Linked DNA regions of Homo sapiens: regions 1, 2, 3 and 5 are each linked to region 4. The links are contacts of gene promoters, found by promoter capture Hi-C in blood cells and fetal thymus (Javierre and others, 2016). All regions are on one chromosome and are shown on one strand. The core of a region is centred on a gene start or on the middle of the fragment in contact, and the rest is flanking DNA. Distances in the headings are between cores, read along the strand shown. Region 1 overlaps OTUD7B (OTU deubiquitinase 7B). Region 2 overlaps SV2A (synaptic vesicle glycoprotein 2A). Region 3 overlaps OTUD7B (OTU deubiquitinase 7B). Region 4 holds the start of PLEKHO1 (pleckstrin homology domain containing O1). Region 5 overlaps OTUD7B (OTU deubiquitinase 7B).

Evidence for each region. The method cuts DNA at HindIII sites, captures the fragments that hold promoters and counts their contacts. A CHiCAGO score of 5 or more calls a contact.
Region 1: a fragment that was not itself captured here is called in contact with the fragment with the promoter of PLEKHO1 in region 4 in 7 of 17 cell types (total CD4 T cells, naive CD8 T cells, erythroblasts and 4 more); the score reaches 7.3 in total CD4 T cells.
Region 2: a contact is called between a fragment that was not itself captured here and the fragment with the promoter of PLEKHO1 in region 4, in 7 of 17 cell types (erythroblasts, naive B cells, activated CD4 T cells and 4 more). The highest score is 8.2, in erythroblasts.
Region 3: a fragment that was not itself captured here is called in contact with the fragment with the promoter of PLEKHO1 in region 4 in 14 of 17 cell types (erythroblasts, naive CD8 T cells, activated CD4 T cells and 11 more); the score reaches 15.1 in erythroblasts.
Region 5: a fragment that was not itself captured here is called in contact with the fragment with the promoter of PLEKHO1 in region 4 in 11 of 17 cell types (erythroblasts, megakaryocytes, naive B cells and 8 more); the score reaches 10.6 in erythroblasts.

The regions. Positions count from the first base shown.
Region 1 is chr1:149,957,282-149,959,981 of GRCh38, reverse strand. It overlaps OTUD7B (OTU deubiquitinase 7B), which reads left to right. Exons shown (of 12, transcript NM_020205.4): 7 at 186-298. Among named protein-coding and RNA genes, the nearest start is that of MTMR11, 22 kb to the right of the region's middle. The HindIII fragment of the contact is 2,342 bases long and covers 245-2,586 here.
Region 2 is chr1:149,903,158-149,905,857 of GRCh38, reverse strand. It overlaps SV2A (synaptic vesicle glycoprotein 2A), which reads left to right. Exons shown (of 13, transcript NM_014849.5): 13 at 661-2,540. The coding sequence ends at 844. Among named protein-coding and RNA genes, the nearest start is that of BOLA1, 4.9 kb to the right of the region's middle. The HindIII fragment of the contact is 3,812 bases long and covers 1-2,700 here.
Region 3 is chr1:149,978,419-149,981,118 of GRCh38, reverse strand. The region is part of intron 1 of OTUD7B (OTU deubiquitinase 7B); the gene reads left to right. Among named protein-coding and RNA genes, the nearest start is that of OTUD7B, 31 kb to the left of the region's middle. The HindIII fragment of the contact is 1,140 bases long and covers 736-1,875 here.
Region 4 is chr1:150,148,633-150,151,332 of GRCh38, reverse strand. PLEKHO1 (pleckstrin homology domain containing O1) reads right to left here and starts at 1,417. Exons shown (of 6, transcript NM_016274.6): 1 at 1,046-1,417; 2 at 275-421. The coding sequence starts at 1,075. RefSeq lists silencers at 1,110-1,189, 1,330-1,789 and an enhancer at 977-1,477. The HindIII fragment of the contact is 16,730 bases long and covers 1-2,700 here.
Region 5 is chr1:149,998,005-150,000,704 of GRCh38, reverse strand. The region is part of intron 1 of OTUD7B (OTU deubiquitinase 7B); the gene reads left to right. Among named protein-coding and RNA genes, the nearest start is that of OTUD7B, 11 kb to the left of the region's middle. The HindIII fragment of the contact is 4,644 bases long and covers 1-2,700 here.

The DNA of each region.
Region 1 (2,700 bases), core at 166-2,665, 190 kb after region 4:
GTCATAGACTATTAGTTCATGGATCTTGACTGTAAAAGAGATAAGAGATTTGACTTTGTAGTACAATTTGTAAACCAAGTGCTAAGGGATTAGGGAGTAAGTAACAGTGAATAAGGTGGAATAGGTATTGCCTCTTAGAACCCAGCCTCTAATTGCCCAATGTCCCCTGCCTGTCCTTCACACAGTCAGGGCTGGTATACACAGAAGATGAATGGCAGAAGGAGTGGAATGAACTGATCAAGCTTGCCTCAAGTGAACCCCGAATGCATCTAGGTACCAATGGAGCCAACTGTGGTGGGTAAGTATGGCTAAGTAGGGGAGGAGGAAACCTGCATAGAGTCCTCACTGGGCTTCCACAGCCCAGTGTCTAGAGAGCTCTGTGCTAAGAGGATATTAGAAGGAAAGAGGGGAACTATGCTAAGGGCACAAAAGTGTGTAACAACATGATATGTTTAGGAACTACAGGTAGTTCGGTATTGAACTGGAATATAAAGTAGCCCATCTAGACTTTGGAAACTTCAGGACAAATGACCCAGTATCTTCAGTAAGTAAACTGCAAGGAAAATAAAAAGGGACCAGGAACTTGTAGGTTTAAATGGACTAAAAAGACATATCAGGCCGGGTGTGGTGTCTCACACCTGTAATCTCAGCACTTTGAAAGGCTGAGGCAGGAGGATCGTGTGAGCCCAGGAGTTCGAAACCAGCCTGGGTAACATAGTGAGACCCCCTTTCTTTTTCTTTCTTTTTTTTCTTTTTTTTTTGAGACAGAGTCTTACTTTGTTGCCCAGGCTGGAGTGCAGTGGTGTGATCTCTGCTCACTGCAACCTCTGCCTTCAGGGTTCAAGTGATTCTCTGTTTCAGCCTCCCAAGTAGCTGGGACTACAGATGCATGCCACCACGCCCAGCTAATTTTTGTATTTTTATTAGAGACGGGGTTTCACCATTTTGGCCAGGGTGATCTCAAACTCCTGGCCTCAAGTGATCCACCCACCTTGGCCTCCCAAAGTGCTGGGATTACAAGCATGAGCCACCATGCCTGGCCAGTGAGACCACATCTTAAAAAAAAAAAATTAGCCAGGCATGGTGGTGCATGCCTATAGTCCCAGCTACTTGGGAGGCTGAGGTGGGAGGATTGCCTGAGCTGGGGAGGTCGAGGCTGCAGTGAGTTGTGACAGCACCCCTGCACTCCAGCCTGGGTGACAAAGAGAGACCTCTGTCTCTAAAAGAAAAAAAAGACATCAACCAGTTGGGATGTGTGGACATCATAAGACAATTAAGGAAATGTGAACAATGTCTCTGTGTTTGATTATTGTTAAAATTATAAAATGTGATATTAATGGTATAGTGGTTGTTTAAAAAGGTAGTCCTGGCCAGGCGCAGTGGCTCACGCCTGTAATCCCAGAACTTTGGGAGGCCGAGGTGGGCGGGAATTCGAGACCAGCCTGGCCAATGTGGTGAAACCCTGTCTCTACTGAAAATACAAAAAATTAGCTGGGCGTGGTGCTAGGCGGCTGTAATCCCAGCTACTCGAGAGGCTGAGGCAGGAGAATTGCTTGAACCCAGGAAGCAGAGGTTGTAGTCAGCCGAGTTCGTGCCACTGCACTCCAGCCCTGGCGACAGAGTGAGACTCCATTTCAAAAAAAAAAAAAAAAAAAAAAAGGTAGTCCTTTATGTTTTTAGAGATAGAAACTGAAATAAAATAAAAATGGATGAAATTATATAATGTCCAGGATTTGCTTCAAAATTCTCTGGTGGTAGCCCCGTGATGGGGGAGGTAGGTAAATAGATCTGAGGTGTAGTAAAACAAGATTGACCAAGTGTTGAAGATGGCCAAATAGGAACAGCTCCAGTCTACAGCTCCCAGCATGAGTGACGCAGAAGAGGGATGATTTCTGCATTTCCAACTGAGGTACCGGGTTCATCTCAGTAGGGCTTGTTGGACAGTGGGTATAGCCCACGGAGCGTGAGCCGAAGCAGGGCGGGGCATTGCCTCACCTGGGAAGCACAAGGAGTTGGAGAATTCCCTTTCCTAGCCAAGGGAAGCCGTGACAGACGGTACCTGGAAAATCGGGACATTCCCACCCTAATACTGCCCTTTTCCAACGGTCTTAGCAAATGGCACACCAGGAGATTATATCCCGTGCCTGGCTCGGAGGGTCCCATGCCTGCGGAGGCTTGCTCACTGCTAGCACAGCAGTCTGAGATAGAACTGCAAGGAGGCAGTGAGGCTGGGAGAGGGGCGTCCGCCATTGCTGAGGCTTGAGTAGGTAAACAAAGCGGCCGGGAAGCTCGAACTGGGTGGAGCCCACTGCAGCTCAAGGAGGCCTGCCTGCCTCTGTAGACTCCACCTCTGGCGGCAGGGCATAGCTGAACAAAAGGTAGCAGGAACTTCTGCAGACTTAAACGTCCCTGTCTGACAGCTTTGAAGAGAGTAGTGGTTCTCCCAGCACGCGGTTTGAGATCTGAGAACGGACAGACTGCCTCCTCAAGTGGGTCCCTGACCCCCGAGTAGCCTAATTGGGAGACACCTCCCAGTAGGGGCTGACTGACATCTTATACAGCCGGGTGCCCCTCTGAGATGAAGCTTCCAGAGAAAGGATCAGGCAGCAACATTTGCCGTTCTGCAATATTTGCTGTTCTGCAGCCTCCACTGGTGATACCCAGGCAAACAGGGTCTGGAGTGGACCTCCAGCAAACTCC
Region 2 (2,700 bases), core at 33-2,532, 250 kb after region 4:
AGGGCAGTGGATTCAGGGGAGGGGTGGGGTGAGGAAGGAGGGCTGAATGGGAAGAGCATCCTTAGGGGTGAGAGGATATACATTTCCATTTTCTCCTCTAAAATCTGGTAGCTTTGGCCGGGCACGGTGACTCATGCCTGTAATCCCAGTGCTTTGGGAGGCCGAGGCAGGCAGATCACCTGAGGTCAGGAGTTTGAGACCAGCCTGGCCAACATGGTGAAACCCTGTCTGTACTAAAAATACAAAAAGTTAGCTGGGTGCCTGTAATCGCAGCTACTCAGGAGGCTAAGGCAGGAGAATTGCTTGAACCCGGGAGGTGGAGCTTTCAGTGAGCCGAGATCGCACCACTGCACTCCAGCCTGGGCAACAGAGCAAGACTCCGTCTCAAAAAAAAAAAAAAAGGAAAAAAAAATCTGGTAGCTTTTGTATCTACTCCTCAAAGTCTTAACTGTTAACCTCAATTTTTGGTCTCCTTTCCCTTTGTCTCTCAATTTATTTACATTCCTGGTGTACATCCTTTACCTCTCTGATCTCTCCAACCTTCTCTCTCCCTCTTGGACACTGCCTGCATCTTCCTGGACTTCACTTCCCTGCCCTCCACTCTTCCTTTGCCTCCCTCCTGTACCTTGCGCCGTGCTGCACTGGGGGACTCCTGAGCAGGACCACAGCTTTTGGCTTCCTGAATGCCCTGTGTAAGCTGGCAGCTGTGCTGGGGATCAGCATCTTCACATCCTTCGTGGGAATCACCAAGGCTGCACCCATCCTCTTTGCCTCAGCTGCCCTTGCCCTTGGCAGCTCTCTGGCCCTGAAGCTGCCTGAGACCCGGGGGCAGGTGCTGCAGTGAAGGGGTCTCTAGGGCTTTGGGATTGGCAGGCACACTGTGAGACCAACAACTCCTTCCTTCCCCTCCCTGCCCTGCCATCCTGACCTCCAGAGCCCTCACTCCCCACTCCCCGTGTTTGGTGTCTTAGCTGTGTGTGCGTGTGCGTGTGCATGTGTGTAAACCCCGTGGGCAGGGACTACAGGGAAGGCTCCTTCATCCCAGTTTTGAGATGAAGCTGTACTCCCCATTTCCCACTGCCCTTGACTTTGCACAAGAGAAGGCTGAGCCCCATCCTTCTCCCCCTGTTAGAGAGGGGCCCTTGCTTCCCTGTTCCAGGGGTTCCAGAATAGGCTTCCTGCCTTCCCCATCATTCCCTCTGCCTAGGCCCTGGTGAAACCACAGGTATGCAATTATGCTAGGGGCTGGGGCTCTGGTGTAGACCATGGACCAAAAGAACTTCTTAGAGTCTGAAGAGTGGGCCTCGGGTGCCCTCTCACATCTCCTGTTGGATGCTGGGGGAGAAGCAATAAACCTCAGCCCTCTGGCCTCCACTTTCCTCTCAATTTGGGCTGCAAATATGAAGCCTGAATTTTATGAAATTAGCTTTCTGATTCTTATTTATTAATAGATTAAGTTCTGAGGCAGCTCCGCAGGACTGTGTGTGAATGTGTATGTATACTTACATATGTGTGTGCATGTGCCATGGGGCGGGGGGTATCACTATACTGTCCTCAAATATAAGCCAAGGGTAATTTCAGCGGATGCACACACAACCCTGCCTCCCACAGTTCCTCCCCTAATCTGGTTTCTGTGTTGAGCCTGGGATGGAGGAGCCCTAGGCCAGCCTGGGATAAGAGTCCCACAGTCTAGGGAGATCTGAGGGCATCCGACAAGGCCCATCTCCTTCCCTCCTCAAGAAGCAGAGGCCTCCTCTGGAGTGAGAGGCTCCACCCACTACAGCACAGGCGGGAATAGCACAGCTGCCCTCCCATGCTCCCTACCTGTCCCCTCACAGGGAGGGGAGCAGGGGAGGGAAAGAAACCAGGCATCTGGTCAAACCAGCAGATCAAAAAGCACAAAGAGCTGGGGCAGAGGCAGGAAGCAGGGGCCCTCCTGGCAGCTCCTCTGAGTGGGGAGAGGTTGGGCAGTGAGTGAGGGACCCCTAATGCAGGGACTAGAAGCCTCAGTTTCCCCATTTTACCCTTCCACACAATAGCCTCTGTAGGTTAGGCTGCCCCATCCCACCCTACTCTGTGTGGCTGCTTTCTTTGGTGCCCTCCCCTCACCCCACTGTAGCTGTGACGTGTTGTAGTTTTTAGATGTTTGTAAAATGTTTAAAAAAATGTTAAAAGGAAAAAAGTGAAAATAACAAAAAAGAAAATCAAAATTCACCTTCGTCATGCTGCGTCCAGTGCCCCAACCCTGTGGTCACTCTCCCCATTTTGTAACACTGTACCAGGTGGTGACTGTTTAACTCTTTGGTGTCTGTGCTCAAAAGACTGCCTTCTCCAGTGCCCAGTGTATGAGTGTGTGCCCTGTGCCCTTGTCCCTCACTCCCCACATGCTGGACGTAGCCCTCTTCCTCGCACCCCTGGGAGGGACCCATCCATCTCCCTTGCTCTCCTGGGGAACCCTAAACCCAACTCTGTTGATGTGAAAAATGCAGTGAAAAATATTGACGAAAAATAAAACGGAAACAAATCCTCAAAATACAAAATGGCTATACCTGCTTCTGTGACTCTCCACCTACATCCAATTCTCCTAACAGCCTTGGAGGGTAAAATGGTGAGATGGACTGAAGGTCAGAATAACATGGTGTACCAGATTTACTTCCTAAATTGGCCTCTCTACCTTGATCTTTCCCCTACAGATGGAGG
Region 3 (2,700 bases), core at 56-2,555, 170 kb after region 4:
CTCCTCCTCCTCTTCCTCCTCCTCTTCCTCCTCCTCCTCCTCCCTGAGACAGAGCCAAAAACTGTGTGTTTGGTTTGCTTTTTTTTTTTTTTTTTTTTTTTTTTGAAACAGGGTCTCACTCTGTTGCCCAGCCTGAAGAGTAGGGGCACAGTTGTCGCACACTATATAGCCTTGACCTCCCAGGCTCAAGCAATCCTCCCACCTCAGCCACTCACGTGGCTGGGACTACAGGCACACACGACCATGCTTAATTAGTTTAAAAAAGGTTTTTAGAGACAGGGTCCCACTGTGTTGTCCAGGCTGGTCTCAAACTCCTGGGCTCAAGTGATCCTCCTGCCTCAGCCTCTCAAAGTGCTGGGATTACAGGCATGAGCCACTGTGCCCAGCCCAAACTTTTTGTTTTTTTCGAGACAGAGTCTTGCTCTGTCGCCCAGGCTGGAGTGCAGTGGTGCCATCTCAGCTCACTGCAACCTCCACCTTCCTGGTTCAAGTGATCCTTCTGCCTCAGCCTCCCTAGTAGCTGGGACTAGCCACCACACCCAGCAAATTTTTGTATTTTTAGTAGAGACAGGGTTTCACCATGTTGGCCTGGCTGGTTTCAAACTCCTGACCTCAGGTGATCCACCCTCCTCGGCCTCCCAAAGTGCTGGAATTACAGGCGTGAGCCACTGTGCCCGGCCCAAACACTGTGTTTTAATCATTGGTTTGATATCTCCATTTGGAATTTGAAAAGCTTAAGCAAGGTATTAGTGGTGATGTAACAAAAGCTGTTGTTCTCACCTGTTGGGTGGGGTTAGGTCAGGGTCCACAGCATGCACCTGGAGACATCAAATGTAAGAATGTGCTGTTAGGAAGTTTGGCTTAGTGCTTCAAATTTTTGCTAAAGAGCAAGGCATTCTAGATAATGTTGAACCTCTAAATTACTTTGTTAAAATGTTTTTTGAGAAGAATAGCCTGTGTGCTGTGTTGACATGTGAGATCTATGATGCCATAACACTAGTTTTCATTCACTTCTCTCACCCAGAAGACTGTCTGGCTGTGAAATTGCCTGTATGCCTATGGCTTAGTCAACTCTTTTCCTTTTTGCTGAGCACCTGTTTGTGATTACTATTTTGTGTACTTATTGTATATTTCTCACATTCTTTCAGAAAGTTATTAAAATGGCTTTACAGTTGCGTTGCTTTTTTTTAAAGAGAGAAGATTGAAATTTATTTTGCAGCTATACACTTGGTTTTGGATTATTCATGTGTATAAGTTATTTGAGCTGCTACCACTTCCTCTGACCTAAGGCTGTGGCTAAAATGGGTTTGGAGAAGAAATTCTTGCCTGTACTGGGGGGTAGGGGGAGGATTCATTCATCTATTAATTCTGAAGGAATTTAATTCCTAATTCCTGAAGGTAAGGGACTTGACATTTTGAATTTGAATTTGACATTTGAATTTGACATTTTGAATTTGACATTTTGAATTTGAGGTATCTTAGACCAAAAGTTCTTTATGTATTAGTAATTCTTTCTGATAATTATGATGTTGAAACTCAGGTAAATTTAAAATTGACAATATCTAGAATGATAGTCAAAGATCATAGATCATGAGGCTATAGTGAACTGAAGAAGTTTATTTTTTAAACCTTGAAAGTATCTTATGAGTCATCTAATACAAGTCTAGATTATAGAAGAGACAACTGAAACCCTGTAAGTAATTTGACCAAAGTCACCTAGTTAATACATATAGGTGTATGTAGGTAAACTCATGTAGTGTGAGGGAGGTAAGAGTTGTGACAGCATGGTTGATGTCCCTTTGGAAAGGAGAGTTTTTAAAACTTAGAAATAGAATGGTGATAAGAAGTGCCGTAGAATTTCTGATCTGCTAAGCTTCAAATTGGTTGGTTTGTTGGTAGCTGATGTGGAAATTGGCTTAGTCATTGAATCATTTATTCATCAGGCATTTGACTACCTACCATATTATAGATGCTACACTAGATGTTGGAGTTACAAAAATGAAGAAATCGTGTCCCTGCGCTCATGGATCTCTTGTACTATTAGAACAGGACAAGAGAGAAAAATTTCTATTTTGCCATCTTTCTCTGTCTCAAAAAAAAAAAAATCCAGTGTTAGCAAGTTAGTGACCTGCTGGTTTTATAACCCACAAATCTTTTTTGTTTATTTGCCTTGCCACTTTTTGCCTTCAACAATTATGCTTTGACCTTTCCCAAAAGGCAGGGGATTGGTGGGTATGGTAGGGCAAGTGTACCTGGCAACTTAATGAATGAGTCTTCTATAGAAAGCTGTAAACTTGGCAGAATTTGATCAGAGATTGTTCTTTACTCTGTTATTGCTTCCCTCTGACTTTTAACCTCAGAGGAATGTTGGATTGGTGCCAGGCTGTCAGGTTAGGGACATAGTTTCTGCCAAAGTCTGAAAGAAGAGATCTTTTTCAGTTGAACTTATTTGACAGTCATCTGTCCTGTGTGGAGAAAGACGTGTTTGGAGTAGATGTGTTTCCTGGGTTCAAGAGGTTAATGGACAGAGATTGAATCTTGTTATGAACCTTTTGGGTCCCCACTCTGCTTTGTGGAATAACTTATTCTTTAATTTAATTTAAGTTAGTTTTTTGAGACAGTCGCTCTTTTGACCAGGCTGGAGTGAAGTGGTGTGATCTCGGCTCACTGCAACCTCTGCCCCACGTAGGTTCAAGGGAT
Region 4 (2,700 bases), core at 168-2,667:
GAACTTCTGGGGCATCTTGGGAGGGGCTTATCGTTGTTAGAAAGGTATTTGCAAACAAAAAAACACTGAGTAAGCGGCCAACTCAACTTCTAATTCTCACTCTGGTCTTCTCATTAAAGGGTGGCCTTTCTCTGCAGATGAGATGGGGGTAGAGAGGAGACCACTGAACTTGCCTTTGGAACAAAACGGGGGTGGAGTAAGCTAGGCGAGCCCTTGGGGAGTGACAAAGTGGGGGCTATGAGAAAACGGAGAGTTAGAGGCAAGAGGCACCCACCTCCTTCTCAGAGATGTAGAGCTGGTCCCCTTTCAGCACCACATAGCGGTTTTTCCAAATCTCCCTGAAAATCCCTTTCCCGCAGAATTTCCGGACCCAGCCGACCTTCTCGGGCGGTGCAGGCTGCTGGTTTCCATCCTGAGGTCCCTGCCCCAGGACAAGATGAGAAGCGGGCGGTTAGGAGATTCCAGCCGGCGCTTCCTCTCCGTCCGTCTCTCACGACCGCCTCGGCGGCCCAGTCTCCTCCGAAGGCTGCGGCCGGGGGGCGGGGGGCCGCCCCAGGTTCGCTCCCACTTCGGAAAGGTTTTCACTCCGAGGAACTCCCCCCGCTCCCCTCCCCCGCTCCCGAATAAACAACCGGGGCTGCAAGTGGCAGGGGCGCCGGCCGGGCGCGGAGAGGCTCCCAGGTTCCCTCCAGGCCCTGCGCCCCCGCCGCCCCGTCCTCGCCGCGCGGGGACTAACGGCGTTTCTCTGGTTTTCTCTCCCATTGTCTCCTCGCCACGGCGGAGCGCGAGGCAAACGCTCGCCCGGCGCCCGGGGGCGGGGGAGGTGCGGGTCGTGGGGAAACTCAGCCAAGTTGAAGCCCCCCGAGGCGAGTAAACAAACAAAAGCCCCCGCGGGCGCCTGGCGGGGCCGAGGCCGAGGGGACCGGGCCGCCGGGGCGGGGGCGCGGCCGGGCCGTGGGTCTCCCAGGCCGCCGCGGCGCCGACGGAGCGGGGGTCGTCAGAGCGCGGAGGCGGCGGCGGCCGCAGGGCGGGCAAGCGCACTCACCCGCTTGGCGGAATTGTTCTTCTTCATCATTCCCAGCGGGCGCGGGCGCGGGGCGGCGAGCCGAGGGGCGGCCCCGCGTCGGGGCCTCGGCGGCACCGCGGGGGCTCCTTCCCCGCGGGAGGGCGTCGGAGCTGCCCCGGCGCCGCCGCTCCTCCCTCGCGCCCTCCCGCTCCCGGACTCTCCCCTTCTTTGTAGCTCCGGTTTCACTCAAGGCCGGCCTCCCTCGCATTCGCACTCGCACACACACGCACGCCCGCTCCCCGCCCCTTGGCGCCCTCCATCCCGGCGCCCACGCGGCCCGGGTCCCCGAGCGCACCCCCGCCACCCGCCCGCCCGGCCCAGCGCGGCCGCTCCCCCGGCCCGGTGCGCTGTGGGCGGCCCAGTCCGCACCCCGCAGCTCCATCCGCGGGCCGCTGACGTTGCGAGTTCAGAATAAAGGGCGAATCGCGGAGCCGCAGCTCGGGCGCTCCCCCCGCCCCCCCGCCTTTGTTTCTGACTCACGGAGGGGGAAGAAGGCGGCTTCGAAGCGGCTGGAGACCGCTCCCCAGGGGGCAGGGACCCTCGCTCCGGCGGCGGCTCGGGCGACACGCGGAGCCCGAGAGACCCGGCCGCCGGCCGCCCCGGGGCCCAGTGGGCGGGCGCGGTGGATAATGGAGAGACGTGCGGATTCGTGAAGACTGGAGATCGCCAGCCTCTACAGCATCGCCTTACCCGACCAAAAACAAAAACGAGAGCGGGAACCGGGAGGGCGCGCCACCCACAACCCGCATCAGGAATTCACGCTCCTAGGTGCTAGGGTGGCCTGGGCAGGTCAGATGCTGGGGGAAAGTTTTATGCTCCGGAGGGGATCGACGTGTTGGGGGATGGGGTGGGACAGAAGTTGCTATTAATACACGTTTCTTCCAGCGTACAATGCCTCAGGCCTTATTGTAGCTTCAGGAGAATAATCCTAAGGATGAGGCGGATTTTATGATCTCCATCTCACAGGGAGAAAACGGAGACTCAGAATAGCTGAGGGATTTGCAGACACAGTGTCGATGCTGGCTTTTCAGACACAGTGTCAATGCTGGCAGGAATAGAACTCTGTCTCCAAACCATTATCCTTTCTACCAAGTGGCTTTCAATATAAGTTCCAGGTGAGGCTTAAACTTCCTGCCACCTGGGTATCTTTTCCCGCTATACTGATAGGTAAAAACCCCACCCTCTCTACAGCGCTGGAGCCCAGTGGAGGGAAGGGCTGAACGCCCAGAGAATGCCCTGACTAGAGAAGCCTCTGCTGATCCCTCCTACAGCAGATCTGCCTCAGAGCCTCCAGGACACATCTTAGTAACTTCATGTCTTTTTAATATATATACGTGTGATGGAAAAGGGGAGTGAGAAACCCCGCGCTTGGGTACTGGTTTCATCACCACTCTGGGCTTTGGTCAAGTCACTGAATTTCTTTAGGCCCGCGTCCCTCCACGTATTAAGTGGTGAGGGATGAACTGCCATTTTTATCAACAAGGAAAGCTAGGGGAAGATATGAGATGACCTCTGAGAGTCCTTTGAAGATATGTGTTGTCTTCCAGGGCTAATTTTGAAATCATAATAAGCTAATAAACACATTGCCTGGCATATGGCAAGCATGCAGTAACCACAAAATGAATAAAAATCCC
Region 5 (2,700 bases), core at 192-2,691, 150 kb after region 4:
GCCTGGTCCCACATATGTATTCATAGGCAACATACAGTTTTGTTTTGAAATTTTACATAAATAGGATCATGTATGTATCCTTTTGTAACTTTTTTTCTCAACATTGCTTTTCAGATGTGTCTACAGGTAGATCTAGTTCATTCAGTCACCTAAATTTTAAACCTGTTTTCTCCATTGCCCTCCCCACTTGTCCTGTTTTTTTGTTTGTTTGTTTTTTGTTTTCTTTTTTTAAGACAGGGTCTTGCTCCGTCACCCAGGCTGGAGTGCAGTGGTGCCATCTTTGCTCACTGCAATATCTACCTCCAGCGTTCAAGTGATTGTCCTGCCTCAGCCTCCCAAGTAGCTGGGACTACAGGTGCGCGCTACCACACCCGGCTAATTTTTGTATTTTTTAGTAGAGACAGGGTTTCCTAATGTTAGCCAGGCTGGTCTCGAACTCCTGACCCCAAGTGATCTGCCTGCCTCAGTCTCCCAAAGTGTTGGATTACAGGCGTGAGCCACCATGCCCAGCTCCCACTTGCCCTGTTTTGTTTTGTTTTGTTTTTAAACTTACCCATTCTTAAAGTCCCAGTGTAAACTATCTCTTCCACAAAAACGTTCCTGATTTTCTTTTTTCTCCAGCAGGATATAATCTTTCCCACAACTGGCTTAGAATTCTTTATAAGCCTTTTATATTAACTAATCAAAGTTGTATCCAGGCTACACTCTACAGATACCTACTTAGAGAATATTATAGATAGAATGCAGCTTTGAAAGTGCCAGTGCTGTGTTCTAAAATAGTTCTTTGAAAAGTCAGGGTCATTTTAAATGAGTTAGTCTACTAGTGCCTTTTGAATCATTAACAGCTAACATCAAAAGAAAAGGAAGAGCGAATTCCTCTGAGGCTTTAGTGTTAATTAATATTGATATTTACATGAAGGTAGTCGCATGTGAAGAATTAAGACACGACAGTGGGAAAATACAATGATGCTAACTAACAAAAATGTAGTTTGTTTATTTATTTATTAGGGACAGGGTCTCACTATGTTGCCCAGGCTGGTCTTGAACTCCTGGGCTCAAGCCATCCTCCTACCTCAGCCTTGTGAGTAGCTGGGACTATAGGTGTGTGCCACCATGCCTAGCTCCAACAAAAATATATTTTAGAAACTTATCTCCTCTTATGTGTTCCATTGTGAGCATCTGCTTTTGCCTCCCTTGAACTGGTAGCTCACCTGGCTAAGTATGAAACCATCAATTTCCTGAAAATTTCTATCAGTTCTAAGGGACAGGATTCTCTGACATGAACAATACTTGGTCCCTGTTGTTTACTGACATGAATAGAGACTTTCCATACCCCTTCTTAGAACTCTGAAAATAGAATTTGAGAGTTAGACTTAAGAGTTTCTGTGTCCTAGCTTCTTTGCTTGCCTAAAATAAATTCCTGGCTATTTGGCACAAGGTGTCCTGTCATTTTAACAACTTTAAGTTCCTTCTTTCTCACATCTTTGTAATTTTGTATAATATACTAGTTCATTATGAAAATTGAGATTTAAATCATCTGTGCAAATTTCCCTTGATGTTTGCTGCTTGATTGAAACTACAAATTCCTTTCCACCGAACACTTGGCTGTGCACTGGAATCTGGGGACAATGCACTAAGGAGATGCCAAGGAGGAGTTACCCAGTAAATAAATAAGCAGGAGGAGAACTGGCCCCTTGGGAATTTATATTCTGGGTTACATAGGACATGGTTACATACAGATAAATGCATATAAAGAAAAAAAATGTGAGAAACAAATACAGGCTATGTAGCAGTATATCTAATATCATATAGCATTTTAGAACTGAAAAGAGATTTACATATTGTCATTTTCTAGGTGAGGAAAATGAGACCCAGAAAATTTAAATGACTTGTCTAAGGTAGTAGTTACTGTCAACAGTTTATTGGATATCTGTTCTCTGAAAAGTTAGGCTTCCAGTATATTATAGAAACAGTCAAAGTCATTAAGAACTCACTAATTATTTGTGAACACTGAATATTTGCATAAATAGATAAATAGTAATACAAGTCCAAGGTACTAAGTACCAAGTGAGGAGTACAGTTACATAGCTATATAGAAGTTTAAAGGGAATAGATAGGGAAAAGTTTTACCTTTATGGTAATCTAGACCTTAGAGAAGAGAGAAATATAGCGGGGAAACATTCAAGGTGGAGAACCAGTGAGCTGAGCTCACCTTGTTTTGGGGGCAGGAAAAGTAGTTTGTAGCACAGTGTTTTACCTAGGAGGGCAATAAGATCAGTAAAGTTAGTAAAGTTAGAGAGTTAGATAAATTGGAGTGAGACTTAAATCTCAGCCAAAGGAATTTGGTTTTTATACTTATACTGAAAAATCTCTGAGTAGGGAATTGTATTGTATGAATTAGTATTTTAGGAAAACTGATTCAGCCTTGTGGTATAAAATAGAGGAAAGGATACCAGTTAGAGGACTGTTATAATAGTCCAGGAAAAAGACTGTCTACAAGGGTAATGGTAATGCAGAAAGGGGGAGAGATTTGAGTAATTTGAAGAGAGATAAGGGGAATTTGGTAACTGATTATCGTGAAAAAGGTTAGGTAAGAATGATCACACATTTTCAGTCTGGGTAATAGCAATAAGGAGAGCTGGGTTTGGTGGGTTTCTGATGCCTCTCCGAAGTGGGGTACCTTGGTAGACAGCTTTGAAA